2 separate regions of the Homo sapiens genome follow, and region 2 is linked to region 1. The links are contacts of gene promoters, found by promoter capture Hi-C in blood cells and fetal thymus (Javierre and others, 2016). All regions are on one chromosome and are shown on one strand. The core of a region is centred on a gene start or on the middle of the fragment in contact, and the rest is flanking DNA. Distances in the headings are between cores, read along the strand shown. Region 1 holds the start of FBXL17 (F-box and leucine rich repeat protein 17). Region 2 overlaps PJA2 (praja ring finger ubiquitin ligase 2).

Region 1 (2,727 bases), core at 82-2,581:
TTTGAGAGCAGGCTGGGTGGGGCTGGCCACTATAGTGGGAATAGCAATGTAGGTTCCAACAGTGGTCTTCTCCAAGCCACTGGGCCTTGAATATTGCAATACTTCTTCCTCAGTCAGCTCTCTCAAGTTATCCTTAGCAGATTTTTTTTTAAACACCTGCCACTTCTCTTCCACCCTTCAGCAGGTAACCAAGCTCTATCTGAAGCAAAACAGAAACCAACAGAAAGGAACTCTTTCACCTTCCTGCTAGAAACATCCACCTCTCTGTATCCGTCCTTTATCTACCTTTCCTCATTCTCTGTAATCACAATGAAGAAAGTATCCTTCCTAAAGCACTCTCCATTCCACCTTCTCCTCTTATTTCTCTCACTAGAGTGGCTCATTCCCATGGTATTTGCCTCCTCTAATTTTTCGCTTGTGAAAGCTAACCTCTCCGCACCAGGTACCGCTCTAGCAGCTGCCCTAGCTCTTTAGCCTCGATATAGTCAAACCTTCTAAAGGACTGCCTGCATAGCTGTTTCCTCTTTCTCATCTGGATCACCAACGTTTGTCATATAGCAGGCACTGCACCGTCATGTTTAAAATATACAACAGACGGCTAGACAGGATTCCGAGGGTGTAGACAATAAAGTGATCTACAGTTTGTAGCCTGGGTGTTGAATGGCTCACTGGGTGGGGAAGCTGTTATCTTTCTGCTGTGCACAGGTAATTTGATATATGCTTTCATTCTGAAATAAAGTTGTGGAAAGGCAGTAGTACGCAACAATTAAGAAAACACAAGTGGGTAAACAGTGGTGCCGCACAACCAATCAACCCCTCACATGACTTCGGTGCGCATCACCCAGGGGCCGCATCTGCCACTCTGCCCGAAGCGCGGTCAGCGCCCACACTGGCCCTTCCGGCGGAACCCGCCTCGCGGCTTCGAAGTGGCCTCGGTTTCCGAGTCAGGGGTGGTGACAGGGGTGGAAGGTGAGGGGAAGAGCCCAGCGGCTCCCGGCCAATGGCAGCTCTTGAACTTACACCTCGAGACGTCAGCGCGGCTGTGTAAACGGATGTCACACAGCTGGCTCGGAAGTGTCTCCTCCCGCCTCAGAAACGCGGCGCACGCCCAGCAGCTTCGGAAAAACCTTAGGCGGTGGGAGGGAGGGGCGTGCGCCGCACCCCGCAAGCCCAGAGCTCCGTGCCCTAGCCGGCCGGCTTCTTCCCGTAGTGCCGGTGTGACGGCCGTCCCGGGTGAGCAGCCGGGTGCCGGCGTCCCCGCCACGAGCGCGCCACCGCAACTGGCTCCGCCCCCTGCCGGAACGGGCCGCGCGCTCCTGCGGCTCCGAGCAGAGTCGCGGGTGCGCGCGCCGGCGGCGGATCCGCAGTTAAAATGGTCCGAGCGGGACCCGGCCTTTCCCCGGCCGCTCCGCTGACTGACTGAGCCGGCTGGCCGGGCCCGGACTGGTCGCCTAGCCGGCAGGCTCGCTCGCTCCCTCCCTCGCGTCCCCAAAGCTCGCGCCCATCGTTCTCCCGGCTTCCCTGGGCAAAGCATGTAGCCCCCGTCGGGCACTCCGGCGGCCCGCAGCTGACGCCCACCCCCCACCGTCGCGTGTGTGCCCGTGTGTGCGTGTGTGTGCGCAGGAAGGGCGACCCCTCCGGGGGCCGAGCCAGCGAGCGGCCTGCCCCGCTGCCGGGAGCCCGCCTCTCTGGGTCTCCCTCCCTCCCGTCCCGGTCCCCCTCCTCGGGGCCTTCTATATGGGCCACCTTCTCTCGAAGGAGCCGCGTAACCGCCCGAGCCAGAAGAGGCCTCGCTGTTGCAGTTGGTGCCGCCGCCGGCGCCCTCTCCTCAGGCTGCCCCGCCGGACCCCAGCCAAGGTGCCCCCTCAGCCGGCGGCGCCCCGGAGCCGGGACTGCTTCTTCCGCGGGCCCTGCATGCTCTGCTTCATCGTGCACAGTCCCGGCGCGCCCGCCCCCGCCGGCCCAGAGGAGGAGCCGCCGCTCTCGCCGCCGCCGCGGGACGGGGCCTACGCTGCCGCCTCCTCCTCTCAGCACCTGGCGCGGCGCTACGCGGCCCTGGCCGCCGAGGACTGCGCCGCTGCTGCCCGCCGCTTCCTGCTATCCTCGGCCGCCGCCGCCGCCGCCGCTGCCGCCTCGGCTTCGTCGCCCGCCTCCTGCTGCAAAGAGTTGGGGCTGGCTGCGGCCGCCGCCTGGGAGCAGCAGGGCCGAAGTCTCTTCCTGGCCAGCTTGGGGCCGGTGCGCTTCCTGGGGCCGCCCGCCGCCGTGCAGCTCTTCCGGGGGCCGACACCGTCACCGGCCGAGCTCCCTACGCCCCCCGAAATGGTGTGCAAGCGGAAGGGGGCCGGGGTCCCCGCCTGCACCCCCTGCAAGCAGCCCCGCTGCGGCGGCGGGGGCTGCGGCGGCGGCGGCGGCGGCGGTGGCGGGGGAGGGCCTGCGGGGGGAGGCGCTTCGCCGCCCCGGCCCCCCGACGCCGGCTGCTGCCAGGCCCCGGAGCAGCCCCCGCAGCCGCTCTGCCCTCCGCCCTCTTCTCCCACCTCCGAAGGTGCCCCCACCGAAGCTGGCGGGGACGCTGTCCGAGCCGGGGGCACCGCCCCCTTGTCCGCCCAGCAGCAGCATGAATGTGGCGACGCGGACTGTCGGGAGTCCCCCGAAAACCCCTGCGACTGTCACAGGGAGCCGCCCCCCGAAACCCCAGACATCAACCAGCTGCCGCCGTCCATCCTGCTC
Region 2 (2,727 bases), core at 73-2,572, 980 kb before region 1:
TGTTAGTTTAGTTTACTAAGTATAAATTATTCATATGTCATTTGTGTTAGCAGTTATTCACTCAGCAAATATTTATTGAGCATTTACTTTGTGCCAGGCATTGTGTTGGATATTGGCGTTATATCAGTAAACAAAGACAAATAACATTCCTTCATGAAGCTTACATTGTAGTAGGAAAGGCAGATGATAACCAAGATACAAACCCAGTACATTACACATGTGATGATTACTGTGAAGGGAATAAAACAGTGATGTGAAAGAAGGTAAATGATGAAGATATTAAAGTGGTCAGGGATGACGTCTCTTTAGAATTGACTTTTGAGCTGAGTTCTTAAAGATGAGAATTAGGGTTCAGAAAGAACTTTCTAAGCAAAAGAAAAAGCAAGAGCAGAGATATTGAATGTTGGTAATTTAAGAAGCCCAGTTTTTCAAAAATTAGTCTTTTACATTACTGTAGTGCCAAATTATGGTTTTGCTCACACATTTTTCATCCTTAGACTTGCTCTTAGAGCTAGCAGCCTTGTTTTGATGAATCTATGATTACATATTTATTTTCTCTAACCTGGATTTTATTTTCTAACAGTGATTCAGACTATTTAGTAAGGTAGTTTTTGTATTACCATGATGTGTGTAGATCACAAGTCTCTTTCCAATTAATATATTTTGCATTCAGAATGATGTATTTCATTCAGAATGATGTAGTACACCAAATGTCAATTGCATAATTATGACAACCTAATTAAATCTAGCCCAAAAAAAGTTCTAATATCTGGGATGGAACAGAAAGAAGAATAAAAAATGGGAATAAATTAGTACATTTTCAAAAGCTTGAGTTGTCTAGATAGACACCAATAGAGCTTTGACCAAAGGGAGAAAATAACCTGTACTTTGGTTGAAATTGAGAAAACCTTCAAGGTTTTAAAATTTGTTAAGCATCTGCTAAACATCTGTTAGTTTTAGCTATCTTTAGGCTAAATATACAAACAACTGTGTGACTCCTTAATAATTGGTCACATGACTCATGAAACTAAAAAAATTCTTTTCACTATTGTACTTTGCATAATTAAAGGGATGGTTTCTGAAATACCAGTAAGAGTGAATACAGATTTAATGACACAAGTTTGAGTGCTTTGGAAATATTTAATGAATTGCTAACAGTTTATTGCTTGGGTAGCTATTTCTGGTTGAACTTCTCTTGATAAACAGATGAAATTACAGTTGTTTTAAAAAAAAAAGGATTCATACAACAATAAAAAGTGAGTTTAGACAGTATGGAAAGACCAATTAAAAACCATTATAACCAGCTTCCTTTTTGAACTTCTAAAGATCTTCCGTACACATAAAAGCATATATGTGTACACGTTCCATTTCATTTTTTATGCAACCGGTAGCACATTGTGTAGACATATGTGTACACCTTGGTTTCGTTATTTGTTTTGTTTATAGATCTGTTTTTTAGATTGTTCCATATTCATATAGATTTCCTTTATTCATTTTAAGTCTGCATAGTTCTACCTTGTTTTGCTTAAAGTCACATATTCTAAGAAGCTCGTATAAAGTTAAGTCAGAACTTACTGTATACTACTACATGAGTATACCAGTTTCATTTGGTGGACAGTTTTGGCTATTGTGAGTAATGCTGAAGAAAAAATAAAAAACACATTGTACATGTTTAGGAGAAATAACTGGAAGCCGAACCACTAGGTCAGTGAGTGTGCATAAACCTAATCTATAGCTTTTGCCGGGTTTCTCTACAAAGAACTTAAATTAGTCACTTTCTTACCAACACTATATGAATTGCCTTTCTTCAAAGCTTTCTTCAGAGCTTCACCAACACACAGGGTATTATCAGAATTTTTTATTTTTGCTAATAGTTGAAACATATTTCAGTTGTTTTAATTTGCATTTTGCTTATTATAAATGAGGCAGAGCATCTCTTTATATATTTAAGGGCTATTTGAATTTCCTTTTCTGCTAATTATTATATCCTTTGCCTCCTTTCTGTTGATATATATTGATGTTTTTCTTACAGTTTTTTTTTTACATTTTAAGCTTCTATTGATTAAGGAAAAGCCCTTTGTCTCTCTTGTATTGTAGTTCACGTTTCTCAGTTTGAGTTTTGTGTCCAAATTTTGTGACTTCAGGGTTTTATATCATGCTTAGAATGACACTGAAATTTTTTTTTTTTTTTTTTTGAGACAGAGTCTCGCTCTGTCGCCCAGGCTGGAGTGCAGTGGCGGGATCTCGGCTCACTGCAAGCTCCGCCTCCCGGGTTCACGCCATTCTCCTGCCTCAGCCTCCCAAGTAGCTGGGACTACAGGCGCCCGCCACTACGCCCGGCTAATTTTTTGTATTTTTAGTAGAGACGGGGTTTCACCGTTTTAGCCGGGATGGTCTCGATCTCCTGACCTCGTGATCCGCCCGCCTCGGCCTCCCAAAGTGCTGGGATTACAGGCGTGAGCCACCGCGCCCGGCCGACACTGAAATTTTTATAAAATTTCCTCATGACTATTCTCGTACTCATTGTTTAAGTGAGGTGGGGGGTGCATATACACATGTACTTCAAAAAAGTATAGCTAAAGTTTATTTAAGGGATTTAACCTCCCTCCCTGCGGGCGAATACCCAGTTGTCCCAGTACATTTTGTTGATGAGTCCTTTTTTGTTTTTGTTTTTTGAGACACAGTCTCGCTTTGTTGCCCAGGCTGGAGTGCAGTGGTGTGATCTCA

Evidence for each region. The method cuts DNA at HindIII sites, captures the fragments that hold promoters and counts their contacts. A CHiCAGO score of 5 or more calls a contact.
Region 2: a contact is called between a fragment that was not itself captured here and the fragment with the promoter of FBXL17 in region 1, in 2 of 17 cell types (naive CD8 T cells and total B cells). The highest score is 6.3, in naive CD8 T cells.

What each region holds. Positions count from the first base shown.
Region 1 is chr5:108,380,702-108,383,428 of GRCh38, reverse strand. It overlaps FBXL17 (F-box and leucine rich repeat protein 17), which reads left to right and starts at 1,331. Exons shown (of 9, transcript NM_001163315.3): 1 at 1,331-2,727. The coding sequence starts at 1,738. RefSeq lists an enhancer at 961-1,080 and silencers at 1,181-1,430, 1,631-2,380, 2,401-2,480. The HindIII fragment of the contact is 13,285 bases long and covers 1-2,727 here.
Region 2 is chr5:109,364,091-109,366,817 of GRCh38, reverse strand. All of the region lies in intron 5 of PJA2 (praja ring finger ubiquitin ligase 2), which reads left to right. Among named protein-coding and RNA genes, the nearest start is that of PJA2, 45 kb to the left of the region's middle. The HindIII fragment of the contact is 986 bases long and covers 830-1,815 here.